Regions from separate parts of the Homo sapiens genome. Here region 1 is linked to region 2. Evidence: promoter capture Hi-C in human tissues and cell types (Jung and others, 2019). All regions are on one chromosome and are shown on one strand. Each heading gives the region's core, a stretch centred on a gene start or on the middle of the fragment in contact. The rest is flanking DNA. Distances are from core to core; before and after follow the strand shown. Region 1 overlaps MAGI1 (membrane associated guanylate kinase, WW and PDZ domain containing 1). Region 2 holds the start of ADAMTS9 (ADAM metallopeptidase with thrombospondin type 1 motif 9).

Region 1 (5,743 bases), core at 1,343-3,842, 720 kb before region 2:
GGTTTGGTGTCCTATAAGGTTAAAAGCCCGGATATTATTCTGGGTTTCTATCTTGGTCCTGAGCCTAACTTACATTACTAAAAATAAGCAGTTGGGATAAGAAACAACCTAAAAGTCAGCAATGCAAAAGAAAAGGGCCCCAGCGTGTATTTTTTAACCTACAAGCTTCTCAGCACCAATTACAGTGATAGGTTTTCCTTTGGGGCCGGTGACCTTAAAATAAGGGCCCACACAGCATCCTGTTTTTCCAACCCAGAAAAGGAATCCTTATCAGTGTTTTCTTTTGGTGAGCTATTTTGAGCTATTGTTTCATAATCCCCCCGTACATCCTATGTAGTTAAAAATCACCCTCTCAAATTTGTAGGAACTGCATGGGGCTATCAGGCCACCATAGTTTCACCTATCTTAGGGAGACCTCTGTGAATGAGCTGTTGATAAGAGGAATGGGTTACATGGTCAACCCTTAAGTATTTGCATAAAAAGCAATTCAAATTTGAAATATAGGTACTAGAAGCCTCAAGTTGTCGGTATGGTAGTTAAGGAGTCTTCCTTAGAGGTAGAAGCATTTTTAGATGAAGACAAGACCCGACTTCTAAATGCCACAATTACAAATATTTTTAACTTACATAAAGTTAGAGAGCTTTCCTAGAACCATATGAGAAACTAGCTTAATTCTACCCTTAAAAAGTAGATCTTGGTAGGAATATTACCTAGGGTAGAAAGATTGACCTCGTGGTAGGTACATCTTGACAAATTAGTGGTTGTTTTAAGTTAACGGTTCTTTTTCTTTCCTTTCTGGAGAGAAGATGCCATAGTTCACTCCACTTCTGACTCATTCCATATCTTTTCTCTAAGCCCATTAATAAAAAAGAAATTTTGTTATTAGGTAGCGTCAGGAAACATTTGCAAGCTAGAAAAAGCTCCTGCCCACTTTGAAACTGAGTTTTTGTGGCCAGTCAACCTGTTAGTTGTGTAGCTTTAAAGACATGCTTCATTGTCCCAAATCAGAGACTGATCTCGTTGTATTTTTAGCATGTGTAGCCTTGAATGACCAGTGATTTAGGTACTGAGACTTGGAGTAAAATATCAGGGATGTGTTAAGAAATTGATTGACTGTGCATACACTCTTCGGCTATCTGTAGAAAAGAACTGTCTTCCCAAATGCATGTCGCAGTTATGAGCCCTAGATACCTTGACCCCGTTGACCTAGCAGTTGTCAGTGGTAGGTCCATGTATTTCATAAAGCTATATTAAAAATTTTCTGTAAATGCATTTGGTATGTATGAATGGCTATAGGATTAATCTTATCGTAGTAGACTCTAAACCAAAATAATTAAGGAACCTTTGAATGACAGCATATAGTTTAAAAGCACAGGCTTGGTTTTAGACCAAGTATCCCCAGCTATTCACCTGACTGTGTGACATTGGCCATGTTACTTGACCATCAGTGTCTTGGTTTTCTCTTCTGCAGAATGAGAAGATATTAGTACTTAGAGTGCAGGTACGAAGAATAAATTTATGTCAAAGACAGGCTCTGAATACTTTTTAGTTATTTTTGCACTAAGCTTTCAACCTTTAGGCATACTTCACATGTTTTCAAGAGTAGCAACAATAGGATCATCCATATCATTTCAATGACACCTTCTCTGGAGTGACCATTTATTTCTCAGGAATTGCATGGAGACAATTCATCCATCTTACCCAGGTCTTTGAGCAGTCCAAGGTATTTATGACTTTAGGTCTTTCTTACCTGTGCCAGGTCAAGGCTTGTGACTTTGAGGTGAAAGGCTCTGTAAGCCATCAGGAATCACCAGCTTTGCAAGCCATTTATTTCTACTGGGACATATTTATTAGACTATGTGTACTGTGTAATTGAAGCAGACTTCTCTGTAGCTGTAAAACCAGTACAACTATGTTCTTAATCTTCTTCACAAAATGCCAGCTGACACTGCCTTGGGAGCTACTTATTTCAGACATCTGAAGTCCAACTATCTCTCTAAATTATGATGGTCAAAATACTTCATAATGACCATTATTAAGTCCCCAAAGGAAAGAATGTCTTCATCTTTTTGGAGACATTGGGTCTGATACTTATGTTCTTGGCAGCTGGTATCATATTTGTATTGAAAAATTATGCTACGGGGTTATGATGGTATTTAGCCAGAAGAAGGAGAAAAAAAAAATGAAACATGTTCAAACTGGGATCGTTTTTTCATTCCTTTTTATGGATTCAATTTTGTGATATATAGTGTTTATAAAGTCCTTCAGTGAAAATGTACTCTGGTTTCAGCTTGGCCTTGAGTTTATGCTGGTACACTGATTTAGCTAAAACAAAACAACAACAAGAAAAGCTTATCATCATTATTCACTCAAGCATCAATCATTGCATGTGCTTCCACCCACTCCCCCACCCCACGATTAAATGCTAGCCATTCTTCACTTCAGCTCCTCCCTCTGCCCCCTTCTTCATATCGGATTAGATTTCTCTTCCCTGTATTCCTGAAAGCAACAGTGCTCCCTTCTCTCCTGGCATGTAACACTTACCACTGTGAATTATAAAACGGTTGCTTTGCTTTTTCTCTTTTAAAATAGACTATGAGCTCCTCCAGGGCAGGGGCCATGTCTGATTTACTTTTATCTCTTAGTGATGCTTTGCTAGGCATATGGCAGAGCTCAATAAATCTTGTATGAATGAATGGTCTCATGACTGGTTCCTTCTCATACTTCAGCTCTTAGCTCAAATACGGTCTCTTCAAGAAAGGCTTGCATGATCACCCAACATAAAGTAGTTGTGCATCCCCGGCACAGCCTGTTCCATTGTCCTGCGTCATTTTCATCACAGAAGTTACCACTCTCTGAAATTGTTTGCTAAGTTGTTTATTCTGTCTCCCCACAGAATGTGAGCGCTGTGAAAGCAGGACCCTGTAGGTCTTGCCCATTGCTTTATTTCATGCCAGTTCCTAGGCTGTCAGCACAGTTTGGTTACATGAGTGAGTGAATTTTCCCTGTTTTCCTTCCTACCCTCAGTGGAAACTGTGAAGGCTGAATGTACCTTTTCCTGTTTTCTGGACTGTCGTTAGCTTTTTATTGGTACAGAGAGAACAGTTTAAATTTATTTCATGGCTTATATATTCTCTATTAAACAAAGAAAACAAAAAACTGGTTGGCAGGAAATGATGCAGATGGCTTTTTTTTAGAAGGGTTGCCGGCCATTGATGTTCATTGTTTAGAACCACTGGATTGCAGTCAAATAATCATCAATTCTGATTGGCTGGGGAAGTCTCAGATTGTTCTCAATTTGTCTTTCCTGCACCCCATTGTGACTTTGCCTCGATAATCTCTTACTGTTTTGACTCATCAACCTACTACCCCCAACAAATAAAAGCATGGCCTAGGAGGCACATTCCTTTTACCAGGGAGCAGCACTTTTGCTGAAAATTACCTGTGTTCTTTAATACAGTTCCTCTCCTCATAATTTTTTCAGATGTGTCTTTTAAATCTTTCCAAGAAAGAAGGCGAAGTAAGCAATGCAAGTTTTACCTTTCTGTTTGATCCTTCCCATTGGCCCCTCTACTTATATGCTGCTCTTACTGAAAATAAAAGCTAAGCTAAAGTAAATCTCACCCTAGGAATTGCTTCTAATGCTATAGCCATATACTTGGACAAGGATGATTTAACTTAAGGACTATAGGCCCCAATAGAGTGGGTTTCTGAGGGTCACTAGTGAAGGTTTCAAAGACTCCCTGAAATTATATGCAAAATTATGTGCTTCTGTGCAGCTTTGCTTGAGAGGGGCTATAACAGCTTTGTGTCACATTTTTCAATCAAGGCCATGACCCAGTAATTTAGGAGCATAAACACTTGAGTAGAATGGTAGTAAGTCATTGAGCCAAAGGAGAGATAGAACAAACTCCAGTTGTTTTTTAATCTAGCACTGCGCTAAGGCCAGTATGTGCCATTGTCCAGGCATGCTACATATTGGCTGCAGTACTGATCCTGTTGATGATTATTGCCACATTATGTGTAAAATCCAGCAATCTTTGAAAATACTGAAAATAAGAATATGAATTACTTATTAATCCTAGTGTTTAGAAAAATATTTTAGTGCATTTCCTTTAGTCTTTGGGTATATGATGTGTGTGAATATATATGTATATCCACTTTTTAACAATGAGTTTATATATTCTATGCACAGTTTTTACCCTGCTGTTCATGTCTTATATCATTATTATTTCCCCCAATCACTGAATATTCTTTGTTGTGCTCATTTTTAATGGTTTCATAATTTTTCATCGTATTGATATAACACATCTCTCTACTCAGTCCTCCGCTCTTGGAAGTTCAGATTGTTTCCTTTTTTTTTTTTTTTTGAGACGGAGTCTCACTCTGTCGCCCAAGCTGGAGTGCAGTGGTGTGATCTTGGCTCACTGCAGCCTCCGCCTCCCAGGTTCAAGTGATTCTCCTGTCTCAGCCTCCCGAGTAGCTGGGATTACAGGTACCTGCCACCACACCCAGCTAATTTTTGTATTTTTAGTAGAGATAGGGTTTCGCCATGTTGGCCAGGCTGGTCTCAAACTCTTGACCTCAGGTGATCCACTTGCCTCAGCCTCCCAAAGTGCTGGGATTACAGGAATGAGCCTCCGCGCCCTGCCTGTTTCCATTTTTTATCATCTTAAAATAGTGCTGTGTCGACCATCTTTTTATAGGAATTTTTGCAAGACTGATTATTTCCTTAATACAAACTCCTAATGATCAGTTTACTGAGTTAAAATTAATTGTAAATTTAAAGTCCTACATTTAGAATTATGCATTGATAGGTTTTCGAATAACAGAGAAGGCTCATGTGGTCTGAGATTGTGCTCAGAAGTACTTTTATCTTCTTTGGTATCTAAGACCAGCCCTTGACCAAGACCTCACAGTCATTTTCTTTCAGTGGCTTTCAGTGGTCCCTGATGACTCCCTCTCTAGCTCCTACTCTCTCTGTCTCTCTCCCCCTCGATATATATATATAGAGAGAGAGAGATCTATAACTGTGTGTGTATGTGTGTATACATATATATACACACACACAGTTCCCTGCCCCTTGCACACTGTATTACCTAATCCAACTCCAGGACAGTTTTTCAGTTTTTATTGCAACATTTGCCTTGCGAAACTGTAAGGTATCCCATGTGTTCAGTGACATGTGGATTAGTGACACAGCATTTGTTGGAATGCTTAGGAGGAAAGCAAAATGTTTCCACTAAAATGCTGAAGTCGGGAGACCCAAATGCAGAGGGGAATGAATATCACAATGAAAAAATGTAAATTGATGACAAAAATAGTACATTTTTCTTATGCGTAGATCCATTTTGTATGTGACAGACACTTTAGGATTCACCCTTTCAAAGCCTCTTTGTGCAGTTTTTCTTGATTCATTCAGTTAGTGAGGTTGGTTGGCATTCCCACTTCCTTTAAACCTGGAGGAAATTAGGTCCAGAGAGGTCCACTCTCTTTCCCAGCAACTCAGGTTTTGTTTGTCTCAGTGCTGAAATGGCAATGCTCGGCTTCTGCTTGGTTTCCCCAACAGCCCAGCTGAGCTCTCCTACTTCTTCCGTATTTACATTTAATCAGTAGGACAAGCACAGGTCCTAATCTATGAGGGTTCTTTAATAAAACTATATGTATGCATTCATTTTGGGGAAAAGTAAGCAACTCTTGGAGGATATAGAGATCAATGATGCTCAAGGGATTTTAAAATGCA
Region 2 (6,748 bases), core at 4,016-6,515:
GGTTCACATAAGCCCGCTGATTTGAACATTCTTACTTCCTGTATGCCAGGCACTAAGCCAACACTTTCATTGATCAAGTCATTTTCATAACATCCCTATGAGGCAGGAAACCATTATTACCTTCTCTTTAGGACCCGCAAAGGATACCAAAACTGCCCACAGCATAGGTGTAACTCTTACTTGCTGTGCTCAGCAATTAAGGGAGGCCCTGTGCCTTGTTACTCATGATCCTGAAGTACCCACTGGGGAAAGCCTAGCTCTGGAAATGTCTCATTCCAGAAAAAAGGAATCATGATGATTCTGATTAAAGCAGGACTTGCCTCCTAAGAGTAATAATAATACAGTAAGAAACAGAAATTACTTCAATCATTCCTGGTGTGTGTGTGTGTGTGTGTGTGTGTGTGTGTGTAAAAGAATGGCTTTTCTAAATTAAAAACAAAAAACCTGGCTCTGAAAACTAGAACCAAATTAGCGGCAACAGTAAGCTCATTTAAGGTATATTTGTGAAGTGCCTACTATGTAACCATGGAGAAAATAGATTTGTCCTTTGCCCTTGTGTACCTTAAAGACTAACAAAGGACACCAAAACACAACAACACATGTGAACCAAACTAGGAAAGGGAAAATTCTGGACTCAGGGAGCATAAAGCACTCTGGCATGACTCAAAATACTCCTAGAGTTATCAGATTCCCCGCTAGTTAAAGATGCCATATATTTAACAATTGTCTACATCAAATGTGCACTTTTAGAGAATAATAAAATTGTATTTGCACACATTGTGTTGCTAATTTGGCTGCAGTTTGGAAGTAGTTTGGATCAAAGCTAGAAGCCTAGCACTTCTGAATTCCATTTGTAGTTATGATGTTGAACCCCAGGTGTGAAGCTCTCATTTCAAGGATAGTAGAGGGAGGAGAAAAAGGATTTGAAGCCCTAAGAATACAGTCAAAGGAAAGATTAGTGGGATGCATATGGAGTTTTAAAGCCTGAGCAATAATGTGAGTATGGTCTTCTAGAATGACAAGTCAACAAGGAGCTCCTGCTGAGTGAACAGGCTGAAGATCGGATCACCTTCGTAGAACTGCTATAAGCTGGTCATGAGCTATACAGAGCCACCTCCAAAGTGGAACTATGACTTTCAGAGTAGGGTCAAGAAAAGCTAGTTAGAACTTTAGATTTAGCATTAGAAGAAAAAATGATGTTCTCACAGATGGTATTCATCAGGCCAAATATAAATGCTGAATGATGAAGATCAATTAGGCGACAGTCTTTATGTTACTAGGCTGCTCTGATTAATGGAGATCACAAGCTTTGGAGGTAACTGGACCCCAGTGTAAATCCCAACTGCACATTCTGACTCCATAATGCCAGGCAAAGTCACTTTAATTTTGCTGGGTCTTATTTTCATTGTAAGTAAAATGAGGAGGGTAAAACCCAGATGGCAGGATAGCTATGAGGATTGAATAATTAGCACAAAGAACTCAATGAAGGGAATCTACTGTTATTATCAATAATGATACAAACTACTTTCTCTACAGTACCTGTTGCTTGAAGTCAGTAGTTAGAAGACTTTTAAAAAATACACTAAGGTCATTCACTCACAGGGCAAACAAAGACAACACAGTTTCTACCTGCTGCAGTCTGCAAATAGGAAACCGGATCAGAGAGGACATAGTACACATGGTCTGGTACATAGTAAGTACTCAAGAAAAGATTCTCATTATTATTATTCAGACAAAAGATTGGAACCCAAATTATTTAGTTAGCACAATTGTCCTTTTCATTTCTTGTCATGTAAAACACATCTCCCTAAGATTCTTTAGGCCCAAGGTCACAGAGCTCAGCCAGCACCAGGTCCCAGCTTGGTGATTCACTGACCAGAATGCAGTGCTACCAAGTACCAGGGGCTTATCTGTTCCCCAAATCACCTGACGCTGCTGACCACTCAGGAAACTATTCACTTGAATTCTGGCTCCTGGGCCCTCCCTACCATTTGGGTGTGGGTTTCCCCTTTCTGTGGAAATTGATGGCTTTGCTTCAAGTCTCCTTCCTGCTGTTTCCAGTGGCATTAGGCAAACAGAGTCATTTGTGATGTCATCACTGTCATTTCCATTGGCCGGATTATCTCTCCCTAGTGACTAATATCATTCATCACTCCTCTGGGATCTAATTTTCATGACGAATCAGCCAATGAATACTTCCACTTAACCTACAATACCATTCAATTCCAGTAAAGTCCCACGAAGAAAACGGGCTAAAAACTGTCCCTCCTTTAACTCCAGGTGACCTTGAAAAGGTTTGCTTCTTTCAGAGCAAATTTTTATGAGGGGCCAATTTATTTTATTTCATTTTATTATTTCTTTTCTCTTTTTTTGTAGAGACAAGGGGTTGCTATGTTGCCAAGGCTGGTCTTGAACCGCTGAACTGACCTCATGCAATCCTCCCACCTCAACCTTCCAAAGTGCTAGGATTACAGGTGTGAGCCACCATGCCTAGTCTTAATAAATACTTATTGACTACCTACTATGTGCCAGATCTCTTCTAACTGCTGAGGGAAAAGCTGTGAAATATCAATGAAATCGCTGACATGATTTTCATTAAATACTTTGCATGAGAAGAATAAGAGAGAGCTAAAGAAAAGTTATACATGCAATAAAAGCTTGAGGCAATTCTCTGAATGATTTTAGCCATTTTCCCACAAAGCAACCCTCCAAAAATCTAGCAGTGCTTCTGATTAATCAGTTATTCATGACATATGATAATAGTTATGAACTTGGATTGAACGACTGAAACGGAGTTTGAATCGTGTCTCTCACTTACTGGATTGAGGGGGGTCAAATTATTTCACTTATTCAGATCTCGGTATCCTTATTGGTAAAATGAGATTACTGACACTGACTTCCTGAAAGAGCTGTTTTGAGAATTAAATTAAATGCTATATGTTACCCCATGGTAAGTACTGAATAAGAGTACTTATTTAGACAAAGAGTAATTATTCAGACAAAAGATTTTTGCCTGACTTGCTTAGTTAGCTCAACTGTCTTTTTCATGTCTCACGATTTAAAAGACATTTTCCTAAGATTCTTTAAGACTTTTTTACAGATGTAAATGCAGAAGCCAGCTAATACACTGAAGAAAAGATGGGTAGACTCACTAAGGATGAGAAATTCATAAACCTAGGTTCTTGGTCACCTCAGGAGTTCACCAAGAGATATTTTGTATCTTTCTGGCCTATCAGCTCTTGTGGATCAATTTTTTAAAACTGTAGACAAAGTTCATTCTTCAAGCAAAGTCCTAGAAAGAAAGCAAAGGAGAGAGAGTACACAAAGGAGGCTTCTGTCCCTACATATCGTAATTTCTATACCATTAGTTAACTTCTCTTTGTCAGGAAGGATTTGAACTGAAAGAGAAAAAAAGATTTAATGGGAAATACTGGAAAGTGCTATATTTTTGAGTAATTTTACAATGGAAGTACTGGAATATTTTCCACAGGAATCAGCCAATAGATTGATTTCTTGATATTTTTCTGTTCCTTACTAAATTTTCAGCAACTCCCAGACACTGTGATTGTGGGGAATGTTGTTATAATAAAAAGAAAGATTGTGTATTAGAAGAAACGTATTTTAGTGAATTAATTTGGAGGTTCAAGGTTTAAATGCCATTCTCTAAAAATCTCTAATTGTGCACAATACAGATGTTATTTTTCCATCCTTACATTTTACATATCCATTATGAAATTCCAGTAATAAGACGATGGTAACATTATCAATTTGGGTTAACAATTATTTAGCAAATTCGTCTTGCCAAGTCATTTTTACCCTTCACCAGAAGAAATATATGTATTAGTATCTCAAGAATAGTTGACATTGCTAGCATATTGCGATTTGGTTCCTGGTGTTGGCAATCTTTGGTATTTCTAGTCCTGAGTGCTAACCTACCACGCAACAGAACCTCAACCCCCGTTCTAGGATACTTGGGCAAATATATATTTATTAGTCATATATTTATATATTTTTAACGATATTGTCATGTCTTTCCTCTTGAAATTATCTTGAAATTCTATCTTCCTGAGGGCTGGTTAAAGAAAAGGCGCCACTGAACCACCCAAGATTGAACAATTCACACACACACACACACACACACACACACACACACACACGAAGGTGTAGCTTGAAGCGCCTGCTTTCAGTCTTTCCCAGTCTTTCCAAGCATCTCTCAGGCTGAAAGCAAGCGGAAGTGATTGAGAAATCCCTCCAGGGACTGGTGCCTCCCACAGGGATCTACAACTTTACACTCCATCCCCCCTTCCCCTCCCATCTCTAAACCCCCTGGTAGTGAGGGGCGCCAGAGTCCCCGCCCCTTCTTGCTGCCAAAATTTGTTCTTAACCTTTTTTGGGGCAGGGGACCTACAGAATGCTATGGACCCTCCATGAATGGTGACAGAGGTTGGTGGAAAGCACAGCTTAAATATTTTGCGAAATTTTCAAGAGACCACGTATTAGAAACACACTCCGACCTGCAGGATTAAGAACCCCATTTCTAAAACTCTTGACTTGGGGTGATTAAATCGAGAGCGGAGCTCAGGTGCCAAATCTCTTCCCGAATGAAAAAGTGTAGGAAGGGAAGGCGCTCCGGCGCTGGGCCACTTTCACTTGTAAGAAACCAAAAGATGGGGACTGGTGGCAAGAGATGGGGACGGAAGAGAAAGGAAAGGAAAAGGAGAAATGTGAGAAACAGACAGGGACACGGTGGGGCGGGGAGAAGACAGACATCACAGGGGAAAATGGGGAGAAGGGACAGAGTCCGAGAGGCACAGCAGCAGAGAGACAAGGGGGAGGAGGAAAAAGAGACTCGGAAGGGAGGAGAGAGAGGAGAGGAGAGGAAAAAGACGAGAGGGGAAGTGGCTGCACGCGCGCCAGGAAAGGGAGAGAACTTTCCCTGCTTTCCCTCCCCGGGGCAGGGAATCTCAGAAAACCCCACTTCAGCGAGGTGGCGGGGACCAGGAACAGCTGCCCCGGCGCTGGTGACGCCTCTGGCCTCCGCCTCTTGCAGCCGGCAGGGCCTCCGGCTGCGAGTCCCGCACGGGCCGGCCGAGGAGGGGACATGGTCTGGAAGGAGGCGGTCCCCGTTCGTCTCGCTTTCTCCTCCCCTCTCCTCCTCTTAGAGGCGTGCACCGGGGGCATTTGAGAGGCTGTGGACCCGCGGCCCCCCCGCCTCCGCCCCCCCAGCCCCCCATTCAAGAAGCCGCTCAGCTATCCCGGCCAGCACAGGGCGCCCGGCGCGCCTCGGAGCGCAAGTTCCTCGCCTTCTCCTGCCCGCTCGCTGGGCATTATGCGGCCAAGCAGCCGAGCCCCAGTCCTCCTCCTCCTCCTGCTCCTCCGGCTCCTCCTGCGGCCCGAGCGGCTCAGCTCTCGGCAGGCGGCGGCGTTGCTCAGCCGAGCGCAGACGGGACCCTCGCAGCGAGACCTCAGCGACTCCTAAAGTCAAAAGTTGGCGGCGGGCGCCGGGCTCCGCGCGCTCTCCACGGCCGCTGCCTCGCGTCGCCGCCGCAGCCAAGGAGGGCAGGAGGGAGGGGGGTGGGGGCAGCGGAGGGAGGGGTGGGAAGCACCATGCAGTTTGTATCCTGGGCCACACTGCTAACGCTCCTGGTGCGGGACCTGGCCGAGATGGGGAGCCCAGACGCCGCGGCGGCCGTGCGCAAGGACAGGCTGCACCCGAGGCAAGGTAACCAGGCTCCGGCCCCCGGGACCCCGCCGGCCCCGACGCCGCCTCCCGGTCCTCGCTCCTGGGCAGGGGCACCCCGCAGCGGAGGCTTCTCTCCTTTTCCTAGAAAGAATTATCTCCCGCTTTGCAGCCTCTCCCTTCTTTGGGTCATCCCCAACCAATTGCTAGGGAGGGACACTATGGAAACGAATTTAGGCAACCCCCCCCTACCTTGCTGTTGCCAGATATATCCCCATCCCCACTCCCACGCCGCAAACTAAAGTAACTTAGTAATTGGGGGCACCAGATAGCGTCATGTTTTATTTTATTCAGGTTATTTATCAATATCTGAAATCATATATATTTTGACTTGTTAATTGTCTGGCTCGGAATAGTGTATCCTCAGCACCTAGCACAGGTCCTGTTACTGGCACATAGTAGGTGCTCAGCAAATATTTGTCCACTGATTAAGGGTGAAGGGATTGACTCGAATGGGCTGGAAAATAAGGTCAGAACAAAGTCCCCACCTTCGTTTTAAATTAAAGCTTAAGGAAAAATGAATTATTGGTTCATATACCTCTGCTTCTCTCCGCAGTGAAATTATTAGAGACCCTGAGCGAATACGAAATCGTGTCTCCCATCCGAGTGAACGCTCTCGGAGAACCCTTTCCCACGAACGTCCACTTCAAAAGAACGCGACGGAGCATTAACTCTGCCACTGACCCCTGGCCTGCCTTCGCCTCCTCCTCTTCCTCCTCTACCTCCTCCCAGGCGCATTACCGCCTCTCTGCCTTCGGCCAGCAGTTTCTATTTAATCTCACCGCCAATGCCGGATTTATCGCTCCACTGTTCACTGTCACCCTCCTCGGGACGCCCGGGGTGAATCAGACCAAGTTTTATTCCGAAGAGGAAGCGGAACTCAAGCACTGTTTCTACAAAGGCTATGTCAATACCAACTCCGAGCACACGGCCGTCATCAGCCTCTGCTCAGGAATGGTAAGTGGGCGCGCGCCACCTCCTCTCCCCTTCCGCCTCCTCGCCCGCTTC

What was found. Contacts are between HindIII fragments. The study calls those that stand out against the background at their distance.
Region 1: a contact is called between a fragment that was not itself captured here and the fragment with the promoter of ADAMTS9 in region 2, in 1 of the 25 tissues and cell types used here (hippocampus).

Annotation. Positions count from the first base shown.
Region 1 is chr3:65,406,074-65,411,816 of GRCh38, reverse strand. All of the region lies in intron 12 of MAGI1 (membrane associated guanylate kinase, WW and PDZ domain containing 1), which reads left to right. Among named protein-coding and RNA genes, the nearest start is that of LINC02040, 230 kb to the right of the region's middle. RefSeq lists an enhancer at 2,992-3,531. The HindIII fragment of the contact is 3,453 bases long and covers 866-4,318 here.
Region 2 is chr3:64,686,517-64,693,264 of GRCh38, reverse strand. ADAMTS9 (ADAM metallopeptidase with thrombospondin type 1 motif 9) reads left to right here and starts at 5,265. Exons shown (of 40, transcript NM_182920.2): 1 at 5,265-5,722; 2 at 6,297-6,697. The coding sequence starts at 5,608. All of the region lies in intron 1 of ADAMTS9-AS2 (ADAMTS9 antisense RNA 2), which reads right to left. The HindIII fragment of the contact is 6,670 bases long and covers 1,983-6,748 here.